Linked DNA regions of Homo sapiens: region 2 is linked to region 1. Evidence: promoter capture Hi-C in human tissues and cell types (Jung and others, 2019). All regions are on one chromosome and are shown on one strand. Each heading gives the region's core, a stretch centred on a gene start or on the middle of the fragment in contact. The rest is flanking DNA. Distances are from core to core; before and after follow the strand shown. Region 1 holds the start of MDM4 (MDM4 regulator of p53). Region 2 has its middle 7.0 kb from the start of NFASC.

What was found. Contacts are between HindIII fragments. The study calls those that stand out against the background at their distance.
Region 2: a contact is called between a fragment that was not itself captured here and the fragment with the promoter of MDM4 in region 1, in 1 of the 25 tissues and cell types used here (dorsolateral prefrontal cortex).

The regions. Positions count from the first base shown.
Region 1 is chr1:204,512,519-204,518,971 of GRCh38, forward strand. MDM4 (MDM4 regulator of p53) reads left to right here and starts at 3,888. Exons shown (of 11, transcript NM_002393.5): 1 at 3,888-3,991. RefSeq lists enhancers at 2,370-3,281, 3,142-4,341, 3,282-4,192, 3,631-3,760, 3,771-3,850 and 1 more. The HindIII fragment of the contact is 11,632 bases long and covers 1-6,453 here.
Region 2 is chr1:204,818,448-204,824,900 of GRCh38, forward strand. No RefSeq gene overlaps it. Among named protein-coding and RNA genes, the nearest start is that of NFASC, 7.0 kb to the right of the region's middle. The HindIII fragment of the contact is 4,246 bases long and covers 1-3,911 here.

The DNA.
Region 1 (6,453 bases), core at 2,638-5,137:
CATATAAACTCTAAAAGTCTAAAGAAATGCATGGCAGGGGTACATACCAAATTCAAGATAGTGGTTCCCAGAGGATGAAGAAAGGAGATACCATAGAGGTGACTACAGGGAACTTCTTTGTATGTGTATTGTTCTTAGGAAGAGGAATGGGAAAAGGGACATCATATTCTTTTTTTTTTTTTTTTTGAGACAGAGTCTCACTATGTTTTCCAGGGTGGAGTGCAATGGCGCCATCTCAGCTCACTGCAACCTCCGCCTCCAGGGTTGGAGCGATTCTCCTGCCTCAGCCTCCCGAGTAGCTGGGATTACAGGCATGCACCACCACACCCGGCTAATTGTTTTGTATTTTTAGTAGAGATGGGGTTTTGCCATGTTGGGCAGGCTGGTCTTGAACTCCCGACCCCAGGTGATCCGTCCGCCTCAGCATCCCAAAGTGCTGGGATTACAGGCCTGAGCCACTGCGCCCAGCTGGGAGATCATATTCTTTATACCTTTTGATATGTATAAAGTCATTAATTATATTTTTTTTTCAGAAAGGCTATAGACCAATAATACTGACTTTTAATTTTTTTAAAACTAGAAGGGCCATAAGAAATGGCTGAATTCAGCCATTTTGTTTTACAGATTAGGGAACTGAAGACCGGAAACCTGTGTAACTTCTTCTGTTTTCTACAAATAGCTAGACTAGAACCCAGATTTCCTGTCTTTTTATTCGAATCAATGGTTTGTGAGCATAGTTCTTAAAGAAGGAAGTGGTGATCACTCAGTTGAGTTTTTAAGCCAATTTCCAATTTCATTTCTTTCTTTCATTTCTTCTTTTTTTTTTTTTTGAGATGGAGTCTTCCTCTGTCGCCCACGCTGGAGCGTAGTGGCACGCGCCTGTAATCCCAGCAATTTGGGAGGGTGAGGCAGGAGAATCGTTTGAATCTGGGAGGCGGAGAATGCAGCGAGCTGAGATCGTGCCACTGCACTCCAGCCTGGCAACAGAAGGGAACTCCGTCTCAAAAACAAAACAAAACAAAACAAAACAAAATAACCACACACATAGAATTAGCTGGGCGTGCTGGCGGGTGCCACCTGTAGGATTATAAGATTACACCTGTAATCCTAACACTTTGGGAGGCCAAGGTGTGGGGGAGGATCACTTGAGGCCAGGAGTTCAAGACCAGACTGGGCGACATAGTAAGACCCTGTGTCTATTTTTTTAAAAAAATTAGAAGATGAGCAATTACTCACAAATCAGTGTCAACCACGATGGGAAAAACTCTATTCTTCACCATGGCCTCGTCAACATATTTATCAACGTTTTGTTTTTTTTGATTGACTGAGATAGAGTCTGGCTCCATCACCCAGGCTAGAGTGCAGTGGAGCAATCTCGACTCACTGCAATCTCCTCCTCCGGGTTCAAGCAATTCTCCTCCCTCAGCCTCCCGAGTAGCTGGGATTATAGGCGCCTACCACTGCACCCGGCTAATCTTTTTTGTATCTTTAGACAGTGTTTTACCATGTTGGCCAGGCTAGTCTCGAACTTCTGACCTCACGTGATCCACCTGCCTCGACCTCCCAAAGTGCTGGGATTACAGGCATAAGCCACTGCGCCGGGCCCTCGAGATTTTAAATGAAGACGAATTAAAGATGTTGGTCAATATTTTGCCCAAATTGAAAAGGCTTATCTCTCTTAACCTAGAGGAGGTTAACTGCAGCTCATCAATCATTGCACTTACCACATTCTTTTTACCTGGACAGTCTGATTCCTCCACTAGACAGATTTCAGGTCTTGTTTTGGAATCCTCTAGATTGGTGCTTGGCACAAGTAGGATGCTCAGCTAATTAATTTTTTTTTTTTTTTTTTTTTTTTTTTTTTTGTAGAGATGGTGTTCTCGCTTTCTTGCCCAGGCTGGTCTTGAACTCCTGGGCTTAAACGATCCTCCCACCTTGGCCTCCCAAAGGGTTGGGATTACAGGTGTGAGCCACTGCACCTGGCCTCAACAAATACCTGTTGATCTCACACAAACTGAATTGCATGAACAGATCATATTCCAAGGCTCCAGGAGACATTAGGAAAGGATCCAAACTAACCAGATGCTATTTAAAAGTTACAAAAAAAAAATTCCTGTTGAAAGTTTTAAAAAATACTAATTGCACAAAAGGACAGGGGAAATAGTTGACAGTGGTTCACCTAAAAAAGCACCCTTGACCTTTTTTTTTTTTTTTTTGTGAGTGAGGTGGTTGCAGATTTCTATGAAAAAGAAGTTAATTCTTCAGCTCCTTAATGGAACCCTGGATCTCCCAGCTATGCAGGAGGTTATGCTAGAAGTAGAACAAAGCGGAATGTACAAATTTAAGGAAGGTTACTGCCCTGTGTTCTTTTGCATGGGTCTGTATCTAGCATTGGGAGCCAGGTTTTGTTGTTGCTTATTGGGAGAGATAAGAATGGTATATACACAAATAACTAAAAAAAAAATACGTGGTAAATGCTAAAAGACAGGTGCAAAGAACACTGAGATGGAGCTTTCTTGGGTTACACAGCCAGTTTTAATGTTTCCTAATATAGAAGAGCTTTCAACAAACCTCTCAGGCAGGCTGTCTTCAAATGACATTACTTCCCCCAAATACCTAATTTCATTTATTTCAGAACAACTCTAAATGTTAGAGGATTTTCTGAGCTTAAAAATACTGCCTTGTAATTTCTATTGGTTTTAGTTCTGCACTTTGGAGAAGAGAATAAGGCTCCGTTATTTCCAATATTATACTATTCAGTTATTTGAAGACAGCTTCCAATTTCTATGCTCAACCCTTTCCCTCTTTTTTTTTTTTTTTTTTTTTGAGATGCAGTTTCGCTCTTGTCGCCCAGGCTGGAGTGCAATGGCGCTATCTCGGCTCACTGCAACCTCCGCCACCCGGGTTCAAACGATTCTCCTGCCTCGGCCTCCTAAGTAGCTGGGATTACAGGTGACCGCCACCATGCCCCGCTAATTTTTTGTATTTTTAGTAGAAACGGGGGTTTCGCCATGTTGGGCAGGATGGTCTCGAACTGCTGACCTCAGGTGATCCGCCCGCCTCGGCCTCCCAAAGTGCGCTGGGATTACAGGGGAGAGCCACTGCGCCCGGCCTCCCTCGTTTATATGCAGGTTAAAAACTCCCTTGAGCCTTCAACTATTTCTTTTTCTTTTTTTTTTTTTTTTTTGAGGAGTTTCGCTCTTGTTGCCCAGGCTGGAATGGCGCTATCTCGGCTCACTGCAACCTCCGCCTCCCAAGTTCAAACGATTCTCCTGAGTAGCTGGGATTACAGGCATGCGCCACCACACCCGACTAATTTTGTATTTTTAGTAGAAACAGGGTTTCACCATATTGGTCAGACTGGTCTCGAACTCCTGACCTCAGGTGATCCGCCTGCCTTAGGCCTCCCAAAGTGCTGGGATTACAGGCGTGAGCCACAGCGGCTGGTGCTTTCAACTATTTATTTGACATGGCTTCAAGCTTCCTTGCCACCCTAGTGCCGCCATCGCTCCGTTTCCCTTCCCTACCACCCTTGGGGAGTAAGGGTGAGGACTGGGGAATGGCAGAGGAAGCGTAGTTTTTCCGAAGAGCTGAAGGCAGCCTGTGATTATGACCTTAGCTCTTCCTCTTCTCTGTTTTCTGATCTCCTAATACACGTCTGTAAATATCACAAGACCCTGCAAGTCCCTCACTTATTATCTCTTCAAATCTGACGACTTTCAACCGTTCGGGCCCCACGACTCTCTCCCCGGACTAGGATCTACTCTATGGTAGTGAGCTCAGCCTTTCTAGCTCTCTAGTCCTCCCATTGCTCCATCTATGGTTTCCGGAGGCCTCACCGGAAGCCCTCGTGTGAGGCCGTGTGGGAGGCCGGAAGTTGCGGCTTCATTACTCGCCATTTCAAAATGCTGCCGAGGCCCTAGGATCTGTGACTGCCACCCCTCCCCCCACCCGGGCTCGGCGGGGGAGCGACTCATGGAGCTGCCGTAAGGTGTGGCTCTTGGCCTTCGTCGGCGGGGTGCCGGGAGCGGGAGCTGGAGAGTGAGGAGCAGGCGGCCGTACCGCCAGTTGTGCGGGTAGCGGGCGGGAGGAGCTTGAGAGGTGGGTCGGGCGGCGTGGGGAAGGCCGCGCCAGGCGGAAGAAGGGCTCGGGGGGAGGGGAAGAGTTGTGGGATGAGGGCTCGCGGAAGATAAAAGTGGAGGTGGGGTGACGTGAAGTAACTTTGGCCAACAGGTGACAAACCTAAAGTCGACGTAGTTGGATTGAGTTTAACTGGACACAACATTTGAGGACTGTTGAGGCAATTTGGAGAAAGGAGGTGGGAGAGAGGGAACCGGGTAGAATGACATTGACGTGTCTTAAGTTTTTAAGTTAGTTTTTAGGTCTGCGGACAGTCTACCTTAGAGGCACTTGAGTGCTTGTTTGAAAATGCTTGTTTTGGCTTGGCGCGGTGGCTCACGCCTGTAATCCCAGCACTTCAGGAGGCCGAGGTGGGTGGATCTACCTGAGGACAGGAGTTCGAGACCAACCTGGCCAACCTGGTGAAACCCCGTCTCTAGTAAAAATACAAAAATATTAGATGTGTGTGGTGGCGCATGCCTGTAATCCTAGCTACTCGGGAGGCTGAGGCAGGAGAATCACTTGAATCCGTGGGCGGGGGTTGCAGTGAGTCGAGATCGCGCCACTGCACTCCAGCTTGGGCTACAGAGGGAGATTCCGTCTCAAAAAAAAAAAAAGAAAAAATGTTCGTTTTGGGGCCACACTGAAACCTACAGACAGTATCGAGATGGGGCTCAGAGAAATATATTTTAATGAGCACACCTCCCAGTGATTTTTGTATACCTTAAAGCTTGAAAACCACAGGTTTTTTTGGTTGTGTTTTTGTTTTGTTTTTGTTTTTTTTGAGTGGAGTTTCGCTCTTTTTGCCCAGGCTGGCGTGCAGTGGCGCGATCTTGGCTCACTGCAACTTCTGCCTCACGGGTTCAAGTGATTCTTCTGCCTCAGCCTCCCGGGTCGCTGGGATTACAGGTGTGCGCCACCACGCCTGGCTAATTTTGTGTTTTATTAGAGATGAGGTTTCACCAGGTTGGCCAGGCTGTTCTCGAACTCCAGACCTCAGGTGATCCGCCCACCTCGGCCTCCGAAAGTGTTGGGATTACAGGCGTGAGCCACCGTGCCCGGCCGAAAACCACAGTTTAAAAGCAACACCCGGAGAAAATGCTGCAGCTCTGTGCTGTTGGCACGTGGAACTAGTATCTGTCAAAGATACTTGGAACCTCTTGGTGTTAAGTATTACTGTATCTCAGTTTAGATTTAGTCTTCTCTCTCCTCATACATTTTTTTTTTAATAGATGGGATTTCGGCCAGGCCCAGTGGCTCACACCTTTAATCCCAGCACTTTGGGAGGCCAAGGGGGCAGGTTTGCTTGAGTCTCGGAGTTCGACACCAGCCTAGGCAACAAACTGAGCCCCATCTCTGCAAAAAATAAAAAAATCAGTGTCATAGAGCGAGCTTCCAGTCCCAGCTACCCAAGAGACTGAGGTGGGAGGATTGCTTGATCCCAGGAGGTAAAGGCTGCAGCAAGCCGGGATGGAGCTACTGCACTCTAGCTTAGGCGACAGCGCGAGAGCCTGTCTCAAAAAAAGAGATGAGGTCTCACTGTGTGCTCAGGCTGCAGTGCAGTGGCTATTCACAGGTGTGATCATTGCACACTACAGCCTGAAACTCCTGGACTCTAGGGATCCTCCTGCCTCAGCCCTCCGGAATAGCTGGGACTACAGGCACAGGCCACCGGCTGCAGTTGGTTTTTTAAGATTCTATAACAATCGTTAATCTTTAATTAAAGATTTAATCTTCCCAGTTTAATCTTCCCACTTTAATCTTCCCTGCCGTCCCAGGTCCTGTAGAACACCTACGTTCTGGATTTGACTTATTAACTGCTTGCTCTCCATTTTCCCTAGTAACTTGCAGTTAGTAGGTAGGTCTAGATTTGGATTATTTATCTTTTGGTCAGGAATACTTAATAGGTGTTGTGCTAGTTTCTTGTTGCTTCATAATCAAGTAGTATATGGTGTGTGAATGACCCTCTTTTAGTGATAAGGTTGGGGATGGTGGAATGGTCAGCCTACTCCACGTGTTTTCTTTCCACCCCAACCTTTCACTCAGATGGCTTTAGCATCCCCTACCCCTGCCACTGGAGTGAAGTGGTATGATCTTGGCTCACTGCAACCTCTGCCTTCTGGGTTCAAGCTATTCTTCTGCCGCAGCCACGCAAGTAGCTGGATTACAGGCGTTGTGCCACCACGCCCAGCTAATTTTTGTATTTTCAGTAGAGAGAGGTTTTCATTATGTTGGCCAGGCTGGTCTTGAACTCCTGGCCTCAATCTGCCTGCCTTGGCCTCCCAAAGTGCTGGGATTACAGGTGTGAGCCACTGCTTCTGGCCTGGAATCTCG
Region 2 (6,453 bases), core at 539-3,038, 300 kb after region 1:
ACTTGAGGTCAGCAGTTAGAGACAAGCCTGGCCAACATGGTGAAACCCTGTCTCTACTAAAACTACAAAAATTAGCTGGGTGTGGTGGCACATGCATGTAATTCAAGCTACTCAGGAGACTGAAGCAGAAGAATTGCTTGAACCCAGGAGGCAGAGGTTGCAGCAAACTGAGATCACACCACCGCACTCCAGCCTGGGCAGCAGAGCAAGACTCCAGCTCAAAAAAAAAAAAAAAAAAAAGTACAGACTTGGAACCATACCACATAGGTTCAAATCCAGCTCTTCAGTTTGCTAGCTAGGAGACCTTGGGTAACATATTTAACCTGTCTTTAGCCTAGGTTTTCTCATCACATTGTAGTAATGATTCAATGTGCTTTATCTGTTATCAAGTTCTTAGAGACATGCATATGGTAATCACTACTTGCGTTAGCTATTATTATTTCAGTATACAAATACATAAAATTACCTTCTAGCTAGATTACAAAACTTTCCCCATTCTACCCATGTTCTCATTAAATCTGAGCCAAAATGATGATCCATGAAGATATTTCATGTTCTAGAACCCTTGTTATAGCACTGATACCCCATGTTGAAGTGCATGGAAATAGAGAAAAGTTGGCCCCAGAGCAATCCCAGCCAAAGGCCCTGTAGCAGGGTGTTTGATGCCAACCGGACCAATGCTAAAACCCTTTTGACTGGTGCCAAAGCCCAGCCCAACCTTGTGTGACTGCAGGTTTCTATCTTACTGCTCCTGAACGCAGGCCTATTTGTCAGCCTTGGTACTGTCTTTGCTCATGTTGAGTTCAATTTGGTGCATATTTACTGAAGAAGGGAATGTGAAAAGCAGGATAAAGGAAGTTGCCAAGCCAGGATGTGTCCATGTAAAGGCACATCATACTTTGGCCTGATTCACAGATACTCTGAGTGTAACTCCTCCGAAGAATAGTCATCCTTGAGGCAAGGGGAAGGGATTTTTGCCCCTTGTAAGTCATCACTGGCAACTGCAACCTCCACGCATCTCAGGGAGAGGCAGGTCCTGAAGTGGGATCAGGGCTTCAGGGAGGGACACAGGTGTGACCCCTTCCCCATTAGCTGCAGCACTCACAGCAGCTGGGGGATGGCAGCACCAGCTCTAAAGTGGATATGGCTGGGTCACTAGCAGTGTCTATGTCTGGTTTCCACTTTTTAAGAACGCATCATGCATCATGAGGTTGCCATGGAAGCTATGACACAGAAATTCTAAGCTGGAAGTGGCAATAACAACAGGGACACAGACATGTGACTGAGTGGCTCCAGGGCAATAATGTGCCGGAACAAGCTTATGCCAGCTCACAGGAGCTGATTGTTAAATTTTCAGGAACTTTGCAAGCCAGCTGTGAGAGACAGCCATCAGGAAACATTAAATTATATAAACTTACAATTAAATAATTACATTAAATGAAAAAGTAGAAATAACTCGAAACCCATCATTTTCTAATGATTTTCCTGTGTTTTACTATTATCTATGATCTTGAGGTTATTTACGTTCATAGTAGCTGTATGGTGGAAATGTAATATAATGGTCTCTCCTTCATCACATTGAGTGACATCATGTTGTCATCTTGAGATTGACCATGGCAGGGGAATTTACATCACAGAAATCAGAAAATGCTATACCTCAGGGGTTTTTTTCTTTCCAGTGAACCAGTTGTTAACTATTTACTAGCGCACCACTGATTCAGATGGACTCATTCTCCCCCTAATATGCACCAACGCACACAATAGCCGAATGCTTATCCATGGAGAGGTTCTTCCTGGGCAAGGATGGATGAGCAGCTTTTGTTTGCTCTTGGAGTTTTTTAAAGCTGAGTCTGAATAAGAAAAGGGGTTTCATTTCTCTCACTCCTACATCTTTGCAGGTAGGATTCACCTGGTCATAGCACTTGGTTCGTATGTAGCAGAGGGAACTTATGGCCCATGAAAATGTCTCAGGTACTTTTAATATTTTCCTTAAATGATGACTGTTCATCAATTTGTTTAAAATGCTCTCTTGTGTCTGAGAGGATATGGCACCACTTATTTCAGTCCCAGCTTCAATGAGGGGGTGAATGATGAGGACTTATTACAAGTCAGAAAGTCCCTAAGGAAATATAAGGAAAATATCATTTACTGCAGCTCCTAACACCTAAGAACTGAAGGAGTGAGTCCACTTGGGGCCCTGAGAAGGAACAAGATTTAATTATTAAGGCTATGTTATTTATAAAGCTTAATAGAGTAATTCTTTGTTGCTAATGAAGTCGTAGAGGACCCTTAAAAGGAAGCCTGCACAATTACATGTAAAACTGTGACAAATCTTGTATTTAGAAGCATACACCATCCCATCTGCCACTGTCAGATCCACTCTCCCAGGTCTACCCAGAGGAGGTGGGAGGCAGGAAGGCCACCCACCTCGGGCCTGGCCTCTCAGGTGTGCAGTTTGCAGACCTGAAATATAAAAGCTTATTTTAAACAGACAACTCCTCCAGCCCACTTCCCAGGGGTTCTGTGCTAATAAATTGGCATTAATAAGATAAACTAATTGGGGGTGGCCAGGCCCACAGGCTGGGTTCTCAGCTGCGACCTCCTGGCTCCATGCCCTACTCCTGCTGATCCTGCCAGCCAGCAGAAATTGTGTTGGGGGTGGAGGCAGGGGCAGGACAGGATAGAAACAGAGGAGTCTGGGGTCTGGGGTCTAGGGTCTAGAGACTGGAGCACAGTACCCCTGACTTGCTACAAAGTGAAGGCGAAGTCTCCTTTCCTTTTCCCCAGCTGGGTGGGTCTGGCCCAGTGCAGGAGACATCCTTAACCATTTGGACTTAACAGTTTCTTTAACAGAATAAAATAATAACCCACAGGAAGTGAAAAAGACCCTCAAGGTACAGGGACCACATTTTCCTGATAGAAAGCTGAGGTACTTCTGGTAGGTAATAGCTTAAAAAAAGAAAACTGAGACACTTTCTGTGACAAAAGATTTTCAGACATTTGCTATGTGCAAGAAGCAGTGTCAGAAAGACAATTTAGAGGCTGAAATGTTGCAATGGATAGGACATTTCCATGGTTTATTGAAAACAACAGAAAGACCATCATAAATCTTACCTTATCCAGAAAAATCAGTGGTTGCCATGATGGAGACCTTCTGTGGTTGCTACGTGAAGACAAATATTTTCTTTGGCTATATTTCAATAGCCAGCATGGTTATTTCTGTCTAATATGTTTATTTCTCCAGGAAATAATTCTAGCCAAGTAATGTCCATTTCAAGAAGGGAAACAGACACTAGTTTTTAGGCTGTGAGGACGTCAAACCTCTTTGTATTTCCCTTCTTCGGTCTGTTCATTCTCTCTATATTTGATGATACCTACGCATAGTCTGTTTACTTCATTTGACCCATATTTACTCATCGAGAGGCCATTCTTTACAATGTGTTTTCAGATGTTCTCATGCCTGTCTTAGACTATAAATGTCTGTGTAATTCTTTGATCAGCAGCTAGCACAGCAGCGGTCACAGTACTGCACACAGAGAGGTCCTTCATTCATACAGGCCCACTCTGAACAGTTGTGCAGGTCACGCACTGCATAACTTCAGCTGGGCCCATCATAATGTAGTCCAGTGCTGTTCAATAGAACTTTCTGCAATTATAGCAATGTTCTTTAATCTGTGTCATTTAATACAGTGGCCGCTAGGCACATGCAGCTCTTGTACACTTATAATGTGGTTAGTGTGACTGAAGAGCTGAATTTTTAATTTTAGTTAAATTTAAATAGTCACATGCGGCTAGTGGCTACTGTCATTGGATAGCACTGTCTATATTCATAGCAGCTCTGCTTTTATTCATACTTTTATTTATCATGCACTCATCCATAGCTTCAGCTATGAGCAGTGTATAGTGCTGGACCCTGTAGATACAATGAGAGGAAGATGGTCCCTGTTCTAGGAAACTTCCAGTTGGAAACGCAGTGCAGTAAGTGCTATGAGGGAAGCCCTTACTGTGTACACTGCTGCACAGATGAGAGGCTGAGTCTGGCAGAGGAAGAGTTTTTTGTTTTGTTTTGTTTTGTTTTTCACACCAGAGATGTTTAAGCTGAGTCTTCAGAAAGGAGTACATCACAAAGACAAAGTGAGTAAGGGCTTTCCGGAAAAGAGATTGTTTTAATATATTTTGTTTTGGGTTTTTTTTTTTTTTTTTTTTTTTAAGGACCAGAATGTCTCACTGTGTTGCCCAGGCTGGAGTGCAGTAGCTATTCACAAAAATGGTCATTGCACAATGAAGCCTCCAATACCTGGGGTCAAGCAATCCTCCCACCTCACCCTCTCAAGTAGCTGGGACTGTAGGCATGCGCCACCGCACCAGGCTTTTAATATGTTTTAACCATTTGATTAAGATGAAATGAATGCCTTTGTGGTTAGCTGGGCACAATCACTCTCAAGACTATTAACACAAATACGTTTGCAAGACAACTGCAAAAGGAAAAGCTCTTTTGATAAAGGTTTTCTAAATTCCAGGGTTCCCACCTGGGGAGGGACCATATTTCCCTGTCTAGGGACAGGATTATGAAGCAACCCACCTAGAAGACCAGTCCTCAAAGTCCTCCAGAAAGACAAGGTTTCATATGTTTATAGAGAGAGTTTGCAGTTGGGCTTTTCTTGCTGGTTGGCTCATTAGAAGTAAGAGAGAGAGAAATAGCTTATTTTACTACTATTGTTAATAAACAGGTATAGGCCTGATATGGTTTGGATCTGTGTTCCCACCCAAATCTCATGTCAAATTGTAATCCTCAATGTTTTAGGTGGGGCCTGGTGGGAGGGGATTAGATCATGAGAGTGGTTTCTCATGGTTTAACATCATCCTCCTTGGTGCTGTCATCGCGATAGTGAGATCTGGTTATTTAAAAGTATGTGGCACCTCCCCTTCACCTCTCTTCCTCCTGCTCTGGCCATGTGAAGATGCCTGCCCTTCTGCCATCAGTAAAATTCCCTGAGGCCTCCCCAGAAGCTGATACTGCCATGCTTCCTATACCACCTGAAGAACCATGAGCCAACTAAACCTCTTTTCTTTGTAAATTACCCAGTCTCAGGTATTTCTTTATAGCAATGACAGAACAGACTAATACAAGGCCTTTCATCATGGTAGAGAAAGACTCCAAAAATCCTACTCTTTCTAATATATTTATGCAGGTGAAATTCAAAGGTAGTCTTTAAAGGTGGAAACATGCTCTGTATAAAAGCAGACGGTGGGGCAGTTCCACCCTTTGCCTCCCTCACTCTTGGAGCAGGGACAGGTCTGATACCCAGGCCTAGAGTCAAGGCTGGTTAATGGCTATTCCAAAGCTTCTCTCTCCTCCTCTCTAACTTCCCCATTCACTGCCCCATCTCTCAAATTCCATTCCAGGAATGGAATTTCACCTACGTACAGTGGAAGACTAATTCTATGTAGCTTGGGGAGGTCTCTGCATCTGGAAGGTAAAAGCTCTAACACATGCACATTTCCAAGTGACTTCATAAACTGAGCTCTATGGCTGGCCCTTGGCAGTGGTGGGCAAGAGGCAACTCCCAAGGAGATTTTTATTTTTTAATTTCAAAGCGGGAAGTAAGAGAGCAGATGGAAAGATGCTCTCCAGCTTGGAGTTGGGCTGAGTGCTTCCTTTCCTTTGGCTACTCCCCAGCATGGGGGGAAGAAAATTCTAGGCACTTGAGAATGTGACAGGTGTTGGGGGGTGATGAGGACCTGCAGACAGCATGGGGTCTCCACATCTGCCACTGCTTTGGATCACCAGCATGTGTGCACTGGCCAAATGGGAGAAGGACCAGAGCCCTGTTCCTGGATCCCTCCCTCCTTCCCTTAATGCTGTGTGCAAATTGGGATGCAACTTTCCCCCTTGGCCTAGGGAGAGACTAGAAGATGCTGAGGGAGAGATGAGATAAGAGATCAAAGAGTCTAGTAGCTTCTTGGGGGACCTATGGGAAATTCCTAGTGGTTTTTCCCATTGGCTTTCACTGCACCTGTCTTCCTGCCCTCCTGCATTATGGGGGGGGCCTATATTCCTGGAACTTTCTAAAATTTGCCCCTCTACATTCCTTCTGAACATGCTACTCTGCTTGCTTTTCTGCATCCTCATCCACCTGCTTTGCTAGAGCTCAGCATGACTATCACTCTGCTCTTGTTCTTCCTCATGATAGTGACACAGGATTGTTCCCTTGACCCCCTTTGTGGGCAGGAACTGGAGTGGCTCATTTCACTCAGCCTGCTGATGGCCACTCCTGGCAGAAGGGAGTGTGTGAGTGAGTGCGGGAACCAGAGTGAACGAATGCTAGAACTAGCCGGTCACTCCTCTCTGGTGGGAGCAAGCTCTGTGTGGGCCCTGCAGCAGCATCCAAGTGTGTTGCAATGGATGCTCTTTCAGCTCTGCTGTCCAGAGATGGCCAAGTGTCAGTCAGC